Linked DNA regions of Homo sapiens: all the other regions are linked to region 4. The links are contacts of gene promoters, found by promoter capture Hi-C in blood cells and fetal thymus (Javierre and others, 2016). All regions are on one chromosome and are shown on one strand. Each heading gives the region's core, a stretch centred on a gene start or on the middle of the fragment in contact. The rest is flanking DNA. Distances are from core to core; before and after follow the strand shown.

The links. Contacts are between HindIII fragments. The CHiCAGO score rates a contact against its expected background, and 5 or more counts as called.
Region 1: a fragment that was not itself captured here is called in contact with the fragment with the promoter of LINC01151 in region 4 in 1 of 17 cell types (M1 macrophages); the score reaches 5.7 in M1 macrophages.
Region 2: a contact is called between a fragment that was not itself captured here and the fragment with the promoter of LINC01151 in region 4, in 1 of 17 cell types (naive B cells). The highest score is 6.0, in naive B cells.
Region 3: a fragment that was not itself captured here is called in contact with the fragment with the promoter of LINC01151 in region 4 in 1 of 17 cell types (M2 macrophages); the score reaches 5.2 in M2 macrophages.

Annotation. Positions count from the first base shown.
Region 1 is chr8:123,014,952-123,019,722 of GRCh38, forward strand. DERL1 (derlin 1) reads right to left here. Exons shown (of 8, transcript NM_024295.6): 7 at 4,244-4,354; 8 at 1-634. The coding sequence ends at 496. The region is part of intron 1 of LOC124902013 (a long non-coding RNA gene); the gene reads left to right. Among named protein-coding and RNA genes, the nearest start is that of DERL1, 25 kb to the right of the region's middle. The HindIII fragment of the contact is 337 bases long and covers 3,240-3,576 here.
Region 2 is chr8:123,105,260-123,109,601 of GRCh38, forward strand. TBC1D31 (TBC1 domain family member 31) reads left to right here. Exons shown (of 22, transcript NM_145647.4): 8 at 29-205; 9 at 4,058-4,137; 10 at 4,215-4,342. Among named protein-coding and RNA genes, the nearest start is that of TBC1D31, 35 kb to the left of the region's middle. The HindIII fragment of the contact is 1,055 bases long and covers 1,644-2,698 here.
Region 3 is chr8:123,146,122-123,150,509 of GRCh38, forward strand. TBC1D31 (TBC1 domain family member 31) reads left to right here. Exons shown (of 22, transcript NM_145647.4): 21 at 3,915-4,007. Among named protein-coding and RNA genes, the nearest start is that of TRM-CAT1-1, 9.0 kb to the right of the region's middle. RefSeq lists an enhancer at 2,504-3,703. The HindIII fragment of the contact is 1,768 bases long and covers 1,433-3,200 here.
Region 4 is chr8:122,691,119-122,695,399 of GRCh38, forward strand. It overlaps LINC01151 (long intergenic non-protein coding RNA 1151), which reads right to left and starts at 2,988. Exons shown (of 4, transcript NR_126348.1): 1 at 2,763-2,988; 2 at 2,255-2,363. RefSeq lists enhancers at 2,284-3,483, 3,304-3,804. The HindIII fragment of the contact is 4,977 bases long and covers 1-4,281 here.

The DNA.
Region 1 (4,771 bases), core at 2,158-4,657, 320 kb after region 4:
GTGACCAAGCCTTGGCAAAAGTCAATAAATAACAGAACCTGTCAAGGGCAGAGCAATTTTATGGGCAACCTCTTCTAGTTGCAAATGTGGGGGTTGGGAAAAGTGGGAGAGAGGCATGTGTGCAAGAAAGAGATAAGGGTCCTTTTGGGAAGGGTTTGGTGACCCAGCCCCAGCTCAATGCCAGCAGACTAGGACCCGCTAAAACCCATTATTCAGACGGAAAGGGGAGAAGAGAAGACACCAAAAAATGTAGTCAGTTTTGCAATTTGCACAGTTGGTATTTGTTCTTCACAGCAGTAAGGACTTGAATGAGAATCGTGAAACTTGTGGAACACTTATATTTTTCTTCGGGATTTAAGAAACTTTGTCTCGTACTGAAAGACTACATTCAGTGTGGGTCAGGTCCAACAGTGTTAGCCAGAACGCAGTTGTTAAGTGCACCCAGCACTGGGAGGAAATGTGGCTTGAGAGGAGCGGCTGCCCGAGGCCGCCCCTTCACTGGTCTCCAAGTCGAAAGCCCTGGCCCCAGTTGTGTCTCCCGCCTCCGCCATTCTGATCAGCAGCTCGCCTCATGCTAGCAGGGGGCACACCAAATCCTGATACTCCTCCTCTCCTACTGGGCAGCCAGCGGTACCTGGTGCAGAAAGACGGGGACACAAACGGAGAGAAGAGAACAAAGTCACTTCCACATAGTTATCTGACCTCCGAGAACACCTCCCTCTCCTGCTGTTCCCATGGCACTTGTCATGTTGAAGGCAGCGAGGGACGTCTTATTTAACTTTGTCTTTTCTGTACTCAGCCCCATGACCTGACCACAGACGGCATTCGTTTTTCATGTTTCTTAAATGTATTCAGATTTCAGCTAAATTCACACTCTGAACGTTTTTTTCTCTGCTTATAAAAGTAATCCATGCAGAACAGTATGGAAACAAAAATATTACACCCACAAGCCCAGCAACCAAAGAATGACTGATAGCATCTTGGTATATCTAAATATGGCTCAAACTGGATCAAAGGATACAAAATACATTCACTTTCAAAGGCCAAATCCACAGCCTGCATGTTTGAGCCTTGCACAGCATTTCTAAAAGGCTCTCAGCTGAGCCCATCAAAGGAGACAGGGGAAGAAGGCTTTCTATGTTGGAAGTATGGGTATGTTTTAAAATTTATTCAGAATCTGCCTTCCAGGTACATTCTTCCCTTCTCACAGATGGTGGGAGAGCTGGGGCCCCAGACGGTTAGATGATTTCCCACCTTAAAATTAATAAACTAAGAGTTCACAGAACAGCTAAGAGAACTTAAACCCAAGCCTACACTCTCAATAGTATTTTCCAACTATTTCCCATCTTTGACTCTTTTATTAGTAAACTGAGAATGTGTTTAAACCTATTCCACTTAGCAGATCCTAATGTTTAAAATTTTGCTTGAAGGCAGAGAGCATGATCTGATACCTCCGCTTAAACCCTTCTTGGCAGCAAGAGTAAGTCATGACAGGTGACTTGTCCACAGCAGAAACCCTGAAGAGGACAGGCTTTATACTTGACCTTATACTAGAGCAGTTACTATGTGAATTTACTCAGTGATTATTGCCTTACACTAGGTGCTGCCTGCTTATAAATTCATCTGATCTTCACAATAACCCCATGAGGTAGGCATTACTATTACTCCTGTTTTATAAACAAGAAAATTGAGCCAACACTGAGTGAAGCGCTTCGAAAGTGACAGGATTCCAACCTAGTCAGCCTGGTTCCAGAGCCTGCGCCCTGCACTACTTGTTATACTACATGCATCCTGCCTGGGAAGGGACAGCAGTCAGTGACTGGAGTCTGTTTACATCATACTCGATACCTTCATGCCTCTTCCCAAAACAGACAACAACTCGGGTTTTTGTTTTTTTGTTTTTTTTTGAGACGGAGTCTCACTCTGTCACCAGGCTGGAGTGCAGTAGCATGATCTCAGCTCACTGCAACCTCCACCTCCCGGGTTCAAGCAATTCTCCTGCCTCAGCCTCCCGAGTAGCTGGGACAACAGGCGCCCGCTACCATGTCCAGCTAATTTTTGTATTTTTAGTGGAGCCAGGGTTTCACCATGTTAGCCAGGATGGTCTCGATCTCCTGACCTCGTGATCCACCCGTCGGCCTCCCAAAATGCTGGGATTACCGACGTGAGCAACCACGCCTGGCCAAAAACCCCTTTTAAACACAAAATTTAGTGTGTACAGAGAAGATATAACTACTCTAAATGGAATGGAAAATGGTGATACAAATGTATCAGCATTCCATTTAGAAAAGCAGTTATACCTTCCTATACTCACCTCCTCCATTTTAAACAAATACAGCTTTACCATTAAATCAAAATGTATTTTCCAAGTGCTGGTTTCTCAACATCCATGCCTTCTGGTACAATAATATTCCTCCAAAGTACATAATAAAATAGAACACTTGCTGGAGAAAATGCTAGGGCTGTCTTGCTTTGCTACTCACTCTAAGACAATATGGAAGCCATCTCCACTGCTTAAGTAGATAGTGAAATTAAATGCAAATAATTAGTATAAAAAGATACCCAATTATACATAATCAACAAAAATTTATGGTAATTTCAAAGCAGTTACTGCTTTTGCAAGGAGCTGTATTTTGTCATCTGATCTTTATGCAAAATTTAGCAGAAGGACTTCCCCCAACAGAGAAAGTTCAAGTGGAAGGCAGGCTCCAGGGCTCGCTGATTTTGCCACTAGAATCTTGTATCCTGTGTTGCCCACAACTGAGAAGTAGCTACAAGCCGTTAAGTTAGAATATGGCCATTTAAAGTAAAGTAACTGTTGGCTGCCCCCCAAAAGCACCAAGCTTTTTTTAATTGATGCATCTGCCATCCTACTTGATAAACCTAGATCAGAAAGCCAAACCTGCTGTTATTATGTCCTTTGATAATTAGAAACCAGATTGGTCATTTGTTTTTTTAGCCTGAAGGCAATTCAAGGCTCAGAAGAGAAACAAGTTTCTTTTTATTCTCTTAAAGAAAAACACACACACCACAACCACCAATATGGTATATCTCTGTATATTACAGTTCACAATTTGAAAAGTCTTTGAAAAACATACCCCTACCCTATAAAAGGAAGGGGAGAAAGAGGAGGCCTGCTCAAGTTTTACTGCCCTCACTGATCCCTTAGAGGAATGACAGAACTGCAAAACATTAAAATTAGCAAGATGTGGAAGGGTTTGGTTTGTTTGTTTTTTTAAAGCTTTCAAATGCAAGCTATTACTGCATATCCCTGATATGAGATTAGGCATGATTGTCAGGCAGGCTGTGACACCCAGATGGTGATTTAACTGGCCCGTTCTTCGACAGCCTTTTGCCTCACTGACAGAACGGTCACACGACTATTACATGCTTCTGGGTGTGTGCGCGTCTCCTCTCAGATCGTCAAAATCCTGCTCTCCTACCCCCACCTTTAGGAATATGGCAGCTAGCTTTACTTACCGAGAACCCGCTACTGTGCTTCCCAACAGTGTATCTTACCTCATGCAGTCCTGTGAGACAGGGGCTTCTCCCACAATTTACAGGCTTGCAAACTGAAGCTTGGAGGTTTGATTAAGTAACTTTCCCAGTATAAAAACTGCTATCTGAGGGGACTGGGATTCAAATCCAAGTTTGTCTCAAAAATCAAAGCTGTTGCCCTTACCAGCCCACTTCAGTAAACCCTAAAAGCAGATAAAGAGCACAAACTCCCAGGGGGTTGGGCCTATACAAACCTCAAGTCTCTCATTTTAACTCTGAACAGTCCTGTAAAATGTCTACTCCATAGTATTTAATATAAAAATGTTTAAAATTGCTGACCAACACGCTAACTTACCCTTCCTTGGGCAAAATCATGGGTAAAAACTGATGGGCCAAGAAAAGACACCCCACTAACCTGTGACTCTGCCCATTCACCAGCCTACTGTTTCGCACTCTGGAGTTGCATCAGGTCCCTCAGCAGGCTCAGAGAGCTGAGATGCCTCCTGTAATGTTGGAATCTAGTTGTCAGTGGTCCCTGGCTAAAAGAGTAACAGGAAGGCAACTGAGCCTAAGCTTTAATCCCTAACTTCCTGTGACTGTGTGACTAGGGTAAGTCACTTGTTGCCTCAGGTTTCTCCAGCAGATGGGGCATAGGGGTAAATCATACTCCTCATGGAGCTCTCATTAGGATGCACTAAGAACACAGGCAGTAAAATGTTAGATGAGACAGGACAAAAACACTTACAAAAACTGAGGTGTGGATAGAAAATTTCTTCCTCCCAAGTCCATTGGGTATCTGAACATTAGGAAAAAATAAAGATGTCCAACCAGATTTCCAATAAGCTCATTGATTACCCTGCAAAGAGAGCCAAATGAGTTTAAAGACATTCAAGCAATAGAGATGCACCAAGTTTTAACTAATAGCATAAGGAAGAGAGCCTTCAAGGCAGCCCATTTAGTCCCTGGGAGTCTGTGAGAGCTGACAATGAGCACTTTTGTAGTCTGAGTGGCAAATGCATTCTGAGGGAGACGGGAAATCAGTCCTGCTGAACCAATGAGGCCTGCCACTCTTCAAGGCCAGCAGCCCCTCTGACCTCTCTTTCAAGCACCAGCCCATCCTCAAAATATTGTTTTTGCTACTTCCTGCCTCAAGAGTTGGGGAAGTTGCAAAGCATGCTTCTGAATGCTTTCAGTCATGAATATTGTATTTATAAAATGTGGGCAAACATGAAGGCTACCAAGAGAGAAGCGTGGGAGTAAGGAAAAGAGGAAC
Region 2 (4,342 bases), core at 921-3,420, 410 kb after region 4:
ATATATATATATTTATTTTTCCATTTAGCCACCTCCGCCTTTAGTGAAAGTTATTGAAGATTTGCCCAAGAATAAACTGAGTTCCAGTGATCTTAAGATGAAAGTAACATCAGGGAGAGTACAGCAGCCAGCAAAATCTAGGGAAAGCAAAATGCAAACTAGAATATTAAAACAAGACCTGACTGGTGATTTTGAAAGTAAAAAGGTAAGAATATTTGGTAATTAAACTTTGTCATGATTCTGCTGTAGACAAGTCTTGTGATTTCTAAGCCATCACCACTCTTCTCTCTCTTGGGAATTAAAGAAAGAGAATAAAATGAAGAGAATAAAGTTGTAACCTAAATTATGCACAGGCTGGTCTCAATCCTGGCCTCAAGTGATCCTCCCACCTTGGCCTCTCAAAGTGCTGTGATTACAGGCATGAGCTGCCACACCCAGCCATATGGCAGCTTTGAGAAAGAAAGAAAATATAGCTATTAATAGAGAAGTGACATTATTTTCAAGGGATTTGAAAACTTTTTAATGACAAATATAATCACACACATATACAAAGTACACATTAATATAGAGCTCAGTGAACTTTCACAAAATGTACACACCATGTTACCAGCACCCAGATCAAAAACTGGAACATTACCATCAGCTTATTGCTCCACGCTCTCTCTCCCTCACCCCCACCCACCCCAGAATAACTACTCGACTGATACACTGTAGATTAACTTAGTAAATACTGTCAGTTTTCCTAAGTGGTTGATTGAAAAGTAGTTGATTTACATCCCTACCAGCAGTATTTGAGAGTTCTAGTTGCTCCATATTCTCACTAATAATACCTGATATTTTTCACATTGATTTTAATACAGTGTCCTTCCTTATCCATGGTTTTACTTTCCATGGTTTTGTTTACATGTAATCAGCTGTGGTCCAAATATATTCAAAGGAAGATTTCAGAAAAAACAATTCATAAGTTTTAAATTGCACACCGTTCTGAGTAGCATGACGAAATCTCCTGCCATCTTGCTCTGTTCCACCTGGCACATGACCATCATTCTGTCTAGCATAGTCACTCAGTAGCCTCTTGGTTATCAGATCTACTGTCACAGTATCACAGTGCTTGTGTTCCAGTAACCTTTATTTTACTTAAAAAACTTCTGTAGAGCACAAAAGTACTGATACTGACATATTGTCAGAATTGTGCTATTTTATTATTAGTTATGATAATCTATTGTTGTGCCTAATTTATAAATTAAACTTTATTATAGGTATGTATATATAGGGAAAAACATAATATATTTAGGGTTCAGTGTTATCTGAGGTTTCAGGCATCCACTGGGGATCTTGGAACATTTCCTCGTCAAATCAGTGGGGACTATTGTAACTTCTTTTTTCTTTAAGCATTTTTTAATTGTAAAATTTGCAACACAGAAGAGTGTCTAAAACAGATTACAGCTTAATGAAAAGTAATAAAAAGATTACACATGTATCCTGTGTCAGGTAGCTGCAAGACCATCCTTAGGTTTGATGATTTATTAGGACTCAGCATGTAGCCATATTCATAGCTATAATATATTAAAGTGAAAGGATGCAAAGCAAAATCAGCAAAGGGAAAAGACACATGGGGTGAAGTCCAGAAGAAACCAGGCACAAGCTTCCGGGAATCTTCTCCCACTGGAGTCACAGGACATCCTTGATTCCTCCATCAATGAATATGTGTGGCAATATGTGTGAAATATTGTCTACCAGGGAAATTTATTAGAGACCTGGTGCCCAGGATTTTTACTAGAGGCTGGTTCTGTAGGTACCCTGTTTTAACAGGTTTCAAATTTCAGACTCCCAGAAGGAAGGCGGGCATTAAGCATAAACCACATTGTACAAACAGTTTAAGCACAATGAGCCACTCTTTATTGGTTCTAGGGGTGGTGAGAACTTTCCTGAAATTCAACTTCTAGACACCAGCCAAAGGCTGACCTTGCAAGTAAGCCTTCTGAGGGTAGCAGGCTCAGACCGGCTTGTGTTCACTTTTTTCTGCACATACCCATTTCCACATGAAGAAATAGAGCATTACCGTAGCTTTGGAGCCCCGTGTGTGCTTATCCCCCATCACATTTTTCTCCCTACCCCATATATATAACCATTGTCCTCACTTTTGTGTTAATTATGCCGTTGATTTTCTTTATAGTTTTATAACTTCTTCATGTAACTCTAAACAAAATATTACTTCTTTAAAGAAAAAACTGAATAGCAGACACAAGCCTAGCCTAGTTGTGTAAAGACTGGGCAATGTTGCTCCTATTTAATGAATGCTTTAATGCAAAGATAAGCTGAATGGTATCTCTGAGATGTTCTGGCTTCAGAGTTTGCAGGACCTTTTCTGGGAAAACTGGTGGGAATGGTCATGAGCAACTTTGGGAAGTAAAAGCCTCATCATGTCAGGGTATCTGGCAGCATTGTAGTGTGGATCCAATGTGGATATCCTACAGAAATATGTCAAGGAATGGAGCTGCTTCCAAGGAAACCATAGCCAGTTCTAAAAAGTAGGTCAAAGTAGAACACTTCTATGGCATGAAGTGCAAGTCCTCAACTAATCTTTGCATTAGCACGTGGAAAGAAAAGAAGGAACTTTATCAGCTCATGGCCAAGACAAGGACAGGTCAAATTGAGGCCAAACTCCCCAGGGCATCTTTTTCTTTGTTTAAAAAGAAGCTTCAATGGCAGCAGGTATCTTGATGATGAAGTCAGTCTTCCTGGATCATGTTGCTCTCATTTGTTCTAGTTGCCCTCTATACCTTTAATATGGCACTCAAGTATCTTCATTCACCATCATCTTAGGTTTTCCCTTCACCCTTCTCTTACATTGGACTACCTGTTTCTTCTTGTAAAAAGAGCACTAAACGAAATCAGAAAGTCTGGCTTCGAGTCTTGAGCCAAGATTTAGCAGATTTGTGACCATAAGCAATTCACCAAACTTCTCTGATTTTCCCATTTTTTCAAATAAAGGAAGACATTTCATCTGTTTCATATAGTTGTTAGATCCAGTTGAGATAATATATGCAAACAGCTTTATAATCCTAAATTCTATAAAATATTTTTTATTAAGATAAAAATTGACTTTAAAGTCTTAGATATAAGGGACTATCAGCAGGAGCTGATGTCTGTTAGGATAAAATGATGAACTCCCACATGTTTTTCTGCCAGACTTGTCCTTGATGCTTTAATGCTAGGAATTGCCTAGAATTTTAAGGAAAGAGAGAGGTGGGGGAGGAGCGGTCAGAGTGGATTGCTCTTGATGCAGGAGTCCCAGATGACAGCCGATGGGCCTAATTCGGCTATTCAAGCTAAGAATGGTTTGTGCATTTTTAAGTAGTTATATATAAATATATAATTTTGATTTTTCTTCTTGGCCCACAAAACCTAAAATATTTACTAACTGGCCTGTATTAGTCTGTTTTCACACTGCCATAAAGAATACTACCTGAGACTGAGCAATTTATAAAGAAAGGAGGATTAATTGACTCACAGTTCCACATGGCTGTGGAGGCCTCTGGAAACTTACAATCATGGCAGAAGGTGAAGGGGAAGCGGGCACCTTCTTCACAAGGCAGCAGAAGGAGAGAGAGGAATATGTGGAGGAGAGACTGTCAAACACTTAACAAAACCATCAGATCTCGTGAGAACTATCATGAGAACAGCATGGGGGAACTACCCCCGTGATCCAGTCACCTCCCACCAGGTCCATCCTTCAACACGTGGGGATTGTGGGGATTGTAATTCAAGATGAGATTTGGGTGGGGACACAGAGCCAAAGCATATCATGGCCCTTTACAGAAAAAGTTTGTCAAGCTTGTTTAGGGAAGGTACTATATCATGAACTTTATTGGCTATGTATATGCATGCTCAAGAGAGGGAGAGAGGGGAGTGGGGAAAAGACCTATGATACACAAATATGTCTTACTATGTGTTGTTTTCTAAAGTTGGGAAGTCACTGTGGACTAGATTACCTTTGTCACCTTTTCAGTTTTAATGATTGTGTCATTTATTAATATTGTCTTTTTCTTTGTAGAATGAATTACCAGATGGATTAAACAAAAAGCGTTTACAAATCTTATTAAAAGGCTATGGTGAATATCCAACAAAATACAGGTACAATTTAAATTCTGTATGTTACATCAGTTTTACTCAAAAAAAATTGGGGGGATTAAAATATATTTTTATTTCAGAATGTTCATTTGGCGCTCTCTGCTACAACTGCCTGAAAATCATACTGCGTTTAGTACCCTCATAGATAAGGGGACTCATGTGGCATTTCTCAACCTTCAGAAGAAATACCCCATCAAAAGTAGGAAGC
Region 3 (4,388 bases), core at 1,067-3,566, 450 kb after region 4:
GGCCTCCCAAAGTGCTGGGATTACAGGCGTGCCCAGCACCGCACGCAGCCTAATTCACCTATTTAAAGTGTATTATTCAATGTCATTATATTATCATGTACTAAAAAATACACTTACATAGTCATGCAGCCATCACCACAAGCAAGTTTAGAGCATTTTTCAGCACTTCAAAATAAACCCAGTACCCATTAGCAGTCACTCCCCATTTCCACTCACTCCCCCAAGCCCCTGGCAGCTACTAACTACCTTGTGTCCACTCACCTATTCAGGAAGTTTCATGTAAATATAATCATGTAATATATGGTCTTCTGTGTCTGGTTTCTTGTACTTGGCATAATGTCTTGAGATTCAACCATGTTGTAGCATGTACCAGTACTTCATTCCTTTTTATTGCTGAATAATATTCCATTGTGTGGATATTATGTATTTTTTTAATCTATTCATCAGTCGATGGACATCTGGATTCTTTCCAATTTTTGGCTTCATGAATATGCTATGTGCATTACTTTTACATTTCACAAATTTGAAGAGTGAAAATATAGGTTAGGTCATTTAATTATGCCTACCTTTTTTTTTTTTTAAAGACAGAACTTCACTCTGTTGCCCAGGTTGGAGTGCAGTGGCACGATCTTGGCTTACTGCAACCTCTGCCTCCTGCATTCAAGAAATTCTCCTGCCTCAGCTTCCTGAGTCGCTGGGACTACAGGCGCATGCCACCATGCCCAGCTAATCTTTAGTAGAGATGGGGTTTCGCCATGTTGCCCAGGCTTGTCTCGAACTCCTGGCCTCGAGTGATCTGGCCACTTTGACCTCCCAAAGTGCTGGGATTATACCTCACCCGGCCAAATCATGCCGACTCTTAAAACCACTCATTACCGCTCATACTTGAGATTTAGTGGTCCCAAATAGCACCAAGAGTACTTCAGGGAGGTGGAGAGGAGTAGAATGTGACTCTGCACGAATTAAATATTTAAAACTGGCTTACAAAAGATACTAATCATGGGAGCTGTCACTTCTCCCTCACCCTCTCACACTTACCCTTGTTTTTTTTTTTGGTTGTTTGCTTTTTTGAGACGGAGTCTCGCTTTGTCGCCAGGCTGGAGTGCAGTGGCACAATCTCGGCTCACTGCAACCTCCACCTCCTGGGTTCAAGCAATTCTCCTGCCTCAGCCTCCCAAGTAGCTGGGACAACAGGCGCCCACCACCACGCCCAGCTAATTTTTGTATTTTTAGTAGAGACGGGGTTTCACCATGTTGGGCAGGGTGGTCTCAATCTCTTGACCCTTGTGATCCTCCTGCGTGGCCCTCCCAAAGTGCTGGGATTACAGGCGTGATCCACCGCACCCAGCCTTACCCTTGTTTTAGAAAGAAAAATAGAAAATCTTTAGAGAGCTATCTACGTAGAAATAGAGAAAGGTAAGAAACTGTGAAAAGCTTTCGTCATCGGTAGTTTTCCTACACCTTTGCCCCTCTGCCTCCATGATGTCTTCCCTTCGTGCTAAATTTTTTTTGGCAGACCAGTCAGCCATGTATGTTTTTTAACCTTGCTGAATTTCACCAATAGAGATAATTTGATTAATAAACATCCAGTTTTCAAAAGTCTTAAGTTTATGACTGAATGATGTGTCAGTCATGTTCTTAATCAGGGTATATAGATTTAATCAGATTCATTTAATCCTAAAAGCAGGAGATAATCACCTACCATTAAGAAAATGACATTTTTGAGCCCGGCGCGGTGGCTCACTCCTGTAATCCCAGCACTTTGGGAGGCCAAGGTGGGCAGATCACAAGGTCAGGAGTTTGAGACCAGCCTGGCCAATATGGTGAAACCCCCGTCTCTACTAAAAATACAAAAATTAGCCAGGCGTGGTGGTACACACCTGTAATCGCAGCTACTCAGGAGGCTGAGGCAGGAGAATCGCTTGAACCCAGGAGGCAGAGGTTGCAGTAAGCCAAGATCGCACCACTGCACTCCAGCCTGGGCGACAGAGCGAGACTCCATCTCAAAAAAAAAAAAAAATACAAACCTATATGTGTTCAAAAAATACACATGTTCAAGACCTCACCAATAGTGATTTAATTCAGTAGATCTAATAATAGTAATAATTCCGTCAGTAGCTCTAGGGTAGAAACTAGGGAGCTAGATTTTTGTTTTAAAGTTTCACGAGTGAATATCCCCAGCCAGTGTTTGAAACATTGCTGGAGACAAAAGGTAATCATTAGTTGTTTGAACAGAGATAATATTTACAACACAGCCCTTTGGGAAGATGAATTGAACAGGAGTGGGCAGGTTGAATTTTGGAGGACAGATGAGAGGGAGCTGTGAGATCTCAGCTCTGGCTGGGCACGGTGGCGCCTGTAATCCTAGCAATTTGGGAGACTGAGGCGGGAGGATGGCTTGAGCCCAGGAGTTCAAGACCAGCCTGGGCAACATAGTGAGACTGCCTCTAAAAAATAAAGAAACAAAAAGATCTGAGGAACCACACCTGATTCGCGTCTTGTCTGTGCAGCAAATGTAGCAGTGGCCAGCGTGCTTGTGCCAGAATGCTGGTAGACTGGGAAGCTCGTGACCTTATTCCATTTGCTACAAGTATTTTATTTTGGAGTTATTTCTGGCCAGGCGCAGTGGTTTACGCCTCTAATCCCAGCACTTTGGGAGGCCAAATCATGCCTACTTTTAAAACCCCTCATACACCTGAGGTCAGGAGTTCGACCTGGCCGACATGGCCAACATGACCAACCTGGCCAACATGGTGAAACCTCGTCTCTACTAAAAATAGCCGGGCATGGTGGCGTGAACCTGTAATCCCAGCTACTCCAGAGACTGAGGCAGGAGAATCGCTTGAACCCAGGAGGTGGAGGTTGCAGTAAGCCGAGATCACGCCACTGCACTCCAGCCTGGGGTGACAGAGCAAGATTCCGTCTAAAAAAAAAAAAGTGTTATTTCTTAGTAAAATAGTTCAATCTGCTTTTTCTTTTCTGTTTTTCTTTTTCCGCTGAGTTCTGTCCGCAGAAACCGTTCTCTGGAACAGTGCAGATTGCAGATTACGTTTACTACCTCCGCCATGTCCCGCCCTTCAGATGTTTGAAGATGACTCTTAGATTCCAGTCCCCCACCAGTTCAAATTAGTCATTGGTGATTAGTCACATTACTTTAATGACTCATTGAGCTAAAACTATGAGGTAAAACCATTAGCTAAAGCTTTTCAGAGAGGTAAAAGGCAGACATCTTACCGATTTAATGAGACTCCCAGCATTCTGGGCTCGACACATGGAGCTTAGATGCTAGCGGTGGGAGTAGAAAGGAAGGGACCATTATAAGCCATGTCAGGATGCAAATGTTTTTAAAAACACCTTGGTGTCATACTGGATGTGCTGCTGTAGGAGTTAGGGAACAGTGAAAACACAGCTGAGGGTGAGTGTAAGTTTTGAGATGAGGAGAGTAATTGATAAAAGTAGGGGAGGCACCACTAGTTGCTAGGGCACTGCCCTGCCTGCTACTCTAAGAAGGGTTCGGGTAAAACTTGCCTATGGCTGGCTCTGATTTGCTGTATGTTGTGATGAGGCCCTGCCTAGCTAAAACCAGTAGTGATCAGCTCATAATAGTTTCCAGGGAAGCCTTGCTGATCACATTTCGTAATCTCTATCTTAATATCCATATTTTTGAGTTTGTTGGCTTTTTGTTTTAGCTGAAAGTGTTTTTAAAGTACGTTTTACAGAAATCAGCTCAGCTCTTAATTCTCACTAATGACACTTCCTTGCCTTTTGAATGTTGACCGCATTCTTCTTAAAATAGAAAAGAAAGGAGTTTTTAGCCATCCTTGGTGATTGTAACTTACTAGGGACCATTTGGAATTAGTAAGCCTTTCTACTCACTCCCAAACATCATCTTAATCTCCTCACTTTTATAACAGAAGAACCCAGGTTCCAAAATGAACAGGACTCAAGCTGTTTGCCTAGAACCTCACAATTAAATGACTCTTCTGAAATGGATCCCTCAACACAGAGTAAGTTGATAAGCAAGAAAATGTTATTCTGCCATTTTAAATTTCACAATATTTAAGCAAAATTGTGGCTTAAATTATATTTATAGCATGTGGACGCCATTTTCCCAGGGCACTGATAATGGAAATCCTAAAAGGGAGGCAGCAAGATTCTCTCAGATTCCTCAGTGGGAGAACTGGGTGCAGACCAAATTCCAAGTAAAGAAAATGTGCTGAATCCACTAAAGCCACTCCAGTTCTTGAGCACCAGCACTGCTGCCCAAAAACATAGTTGGAGGTTCTAACAGAAGTCTCTAACTAGGTTGATAATATGAAATTCATAACTATTTTGACATCCTTGTGAAAAAAAATCTCAGCGTTGTTTTTCAAAGCTATTGCATAGTT
Region 4 (4,281 bases), core at 1,738-4,237:
CCATCAGCCTGCTCCCTTAAGGCTTTTGAGTTCACGCTCCTGAATAGGCTCCGGAGAGCCATTGAAAGATCTTACACAGAGCAATGGCACTACCTGTTCTGTATCTCATATCATTCCTTCTGGCAGCATCGGGTTGGAGTTATGAGATTGGAAATAGGAAGACTGAGTAGAGGTATCTTTTTCAGGACTGTTGGTTGCAAGTGTCAGAAATCTTACTCAAACCTGCTTAAATTATTTAAAAAGATATGTTAGTTCCATAACTTTAGAGTCCAGGATAAGTTTAAGCCTCAAATATGGCTAGATCCAGGGGTAACATGATGACAATATGTCTCTCCATCCTGCTTTCCCATGTTTTGACTTTGTTCTCAGCCAGGCTCTCTGCTAATGGAGAACATGGTCCCTGGCAGCCCCAGACTACTGTGATCCTAAAAGTCAACTGTTGCCAAGAAAGAAGAATGTCTTTCCTGATAATTCTGACAAAAGTCCCAGGTTAAATGAGATGGCATGTGGAAGAATAAATAAATTAATAAATAAATAAATAAACAAAAGTCTCATGGAAGACTCTGATTGGCCTGGCTAGGTCATGTGACCATTCATAAGCTAAAACACAATGCTCATATAAGGAGAATGTATGGAACAGGACAAACAATCACCAGAGGATGGAACTCCAAGGATGTGAAAGGCTGAACAAAGGAAGAGAAATCTACGAAGAAAGGGTGGTCAGAGAATTAGGAATAGAATCAGAATCAAATGATATCCCAGACACAAGGAAAGAAATATTTAACACAAGTGGGCAACTCTTTCAAATTCAACTAAAGTATATTTCTTAAGTTTTTTATAAAAAACTGTGATGTATTGGATTGGTAAAATGTTAGAATTACTTTTGGTGGAGTTGTGGGCACTTGGGGCAGGTTGAGGAGTTGGCAATGGATTGAGGCATGCATAGAAAAAGTAGAAACAAAATTATAGATGACCTAAGAAATTTGGTTGAAAGAAACAGAAATAGAGAGGTTATAGAGAAAGAAACAGGATCAAGGTAAGATATTTTTGGTTGTAAAGTGTTTGAATTAGCAGGTGGGAAGGAAGCCTGAAAATAAAGAAAAGGGAGTTACTTTTTAATTTTTTTATTATTTATTTAATTTTTTAGAGACAGGGTCTTGCTCTGTCACCCAGGCTGGAGTGCAGTGATGCAATCAAAGCTCACTACAGCCCCAACTTCCCAGGCTCAAGCAATCCTCTACCTCAGCCTCTAAAGTAGCTGGGACCACAGGTGTGCACTACCACACCCAGCTAATTTTTTTTTTTAAGAGATGAGGTCTCACTATGTTGCCCAAGCTGGTCTCAAATTCCTGGGCTCAAGTGATCCTCCTGCCTCAGCCTCCCAAAGTGCTGGGACTACGTGAGCCACCACACTTGGTCAACTATTTAAAAAGAAAGATTGAATTACAAATAAATATAACTACTAGAAGCATCAAGTCAAGATACATGGCAGTTGAAAATTTCTGAGGATTGTCTAAATTCCCGTTTATGATGTCTTTCACCTTTATGGTGATGGAAGAAATAGGAAGCCCTGCTAGCATCTGCTACAGCTGTTCATTCATTCATTCATTGATTCACTCAACAAATGATTATGAAGCCACCACCTGGCCAGGCACCAGTCCAGGTGTTAGTGATCCAGCAGTGAACAAAATTGACAAAAACCTGCTTCCATGGGTAATAAATGCCCCCTGACACTCGATTCCTGGCTCTCCCACCTTCCTACAGACCTGATCCATGCACTTGGCTTCCAGCTCTTTCTGGGCCCTACAGGCAGATGTACCCAGGATACCAGGTGCCATCTCTGGCAGCTGAAAGTTTGGTTCTCTGGATTGTTCCAAACTTCATTGCTTTTGCAAGCTGCTTACTCACCACCCGACAAAGGGTGAATAGTGAATACAGTCACATCTTTCTACGCTCACCATCTTTCTTCCCTTTTAGAACCTAGAGGAGGATAGAAAATAACAAAATTTTCCCCACCTGAAGCTGCCAGTAGAATTCCCAAAATAAGATTAACTTCTCTAGATGACTCACCTAAAAATCTCGCCACACTTCTCTTGTGCTGCTGAGAAAACAACCAAAAGTAGCTATTATGCTGGAATGTAGGTGAAGATCAAAAGTGGACATCAAACTTGCCAGAAGCAGAGAGCAGGAAGACTTGAAAATAGAGATTCTGGACTCAGACTACCCAGGTTCCAATCCTGGTGTCCTCACTTACCAGCTTTCAACACCGAAAAGGAGACGCAGATGGAAATCCACCCTGCCCAAGAAGCAGCTTCCCACTGGAAAATGGTAATAAGAGTAATAATAGCAGGTGCATCAAATAGCTGTGAAAATGAGATGCAGTCATTCATTAAAGTGCTCAGCAAGGGGACCACGTGGGCGGAGGGCTGAGGTGAGGGTGCATTGCCATGTGGAAGTTGGGTACTACAGCCAGAATGCAAAAGGATAAATCCAGTGTTCACTAAATAATACTGATAAATTTTCTTACCTAATACACTCTCCTTCTGACCCACTCAGCCTGAACATAGAGAGGCAGGAAGGTAAGATTTCCCTGTCCACTTCAGAAACTGAGGTTAGTACAATTAGTTCTTCATTCTTCATGTCTGAGGCCCATTGGCTTCAAGAAAATCTATCTTTCTCTTAAAAACAACTCACTGTAACCATTAGGTCAAAATTACAGCTAAAGATCGAGTTTCTGCAAAATGTCAAATAAAATGTCTTACCATTTGTGACAAACAGCTGTTGCCTTCTTCTCCACGATGGAATCAAAGGATCTTATCACCTTAAAGGAAAACGACTAAAGCAGAATTATTTTCCTTTTAATCTTTTTTCCCCTCCATGGAAATTTACATAAGAAGGAGCTGTAATCCATTCCTTTCTGTGTGTCAGAAAATCTCCACTCTTGTGGTCTCCATGGCAGCAACTCCCAACCTGAGACAGAGGCTGTTTCACCCCACAGAGTGCATTGGACTTTTATCTGGTGAGTGCAATCAATGTAGACAAGCACATTGGATGACTCAAACTTGGGATTATTTCTGATTTTGAATTCCGTGTGTGTTTTGGCTCTCTGTGTTGGTCAACAGTGCCAGATGAATTCAAGTCTGCCTGTTACTTTATGTTGTGGTGAAATGGCCTGATAAGCCCCCTGGCGTTTTGAATGCTGGCTCTCGCTCTACACCGATGATGAAGCATTTTCCAGGTTTCTAAGGGGGTGATGCAACTGACTCACTTTCCGGGTCAGTGGGGACTTGCCCTCAAGCTGTTCTGGCAGCGGTGGGCCACTCTTTCTCAGCTTATCTTTTTGTGATGTCCTGAAACACACTCACCTGTGGCCACTGAATAGCGTTAAGCCCATGGTGGGTGAGCTATTGTGAAGCTGAATTAGCACACCCAAATGGGATTTAAACCCATGATCTGCCCTCGTGAGTGGGAACCGGTGGAGTGACCGTGTCCGACGCTCTCAAGGCTAGGTCAGGCTTTTCTGAAATGGCCATTTAAAGCCTCCATTTGTTTCATGCTGTGAAAGACTCTGTTTAGAGGGTGAAAAGACAACCTGCAGACTGGGAGAAAATATTTGCAAGCCAATATCTGACAAACATTTTGCATCTTCTAGAATATATAAAGAACTTTCAAAACTCAACAGTAAAAAAAAATTAAACATGGCTGAAAGACATGAACTGATATTTCACCAAAAAGGATAGGCAGATGGCAAATAAGCAAGAAAAGTTGTTCAATATCATTAGTCATTAGGAAACTGCAAATTAAAACCACAAAAATATATGCCTACACACCACTTAGAATAGCTAAAATTTTAAATAGTGATAATATCAAATGCTGGTAAGGATGCAGAGAAACTAGATCTCTTATACATTGCCTGTGGACATGTAAAATGGTACAGCCACCATGGAAAACAGTTTGGCAGTTTCTTACAAAATTAAACACTTACCATATGACCCAACGGTCATACTCCTGGCATTTATCCCAGAGAAATCAAAACTTATATTTACACAAAAACCTGCATATAAATATTCGTAGTGGCTGTATTCATAATGGCAAAATACTCGAGGGAAAAAAAAGCAAATGTCCAATAGGCAAAGGATGGAACAAACTGTGGTACCTCCATACAATGGAATACTACTTAGCAACAAAAGCAAATGAACTCTTGGTACATGCAACAACCTGGATGGACCTCAGGCATTATGCTTAGTGAAAAAAGCCAGTCTCAGAAGGTTACATACCTTT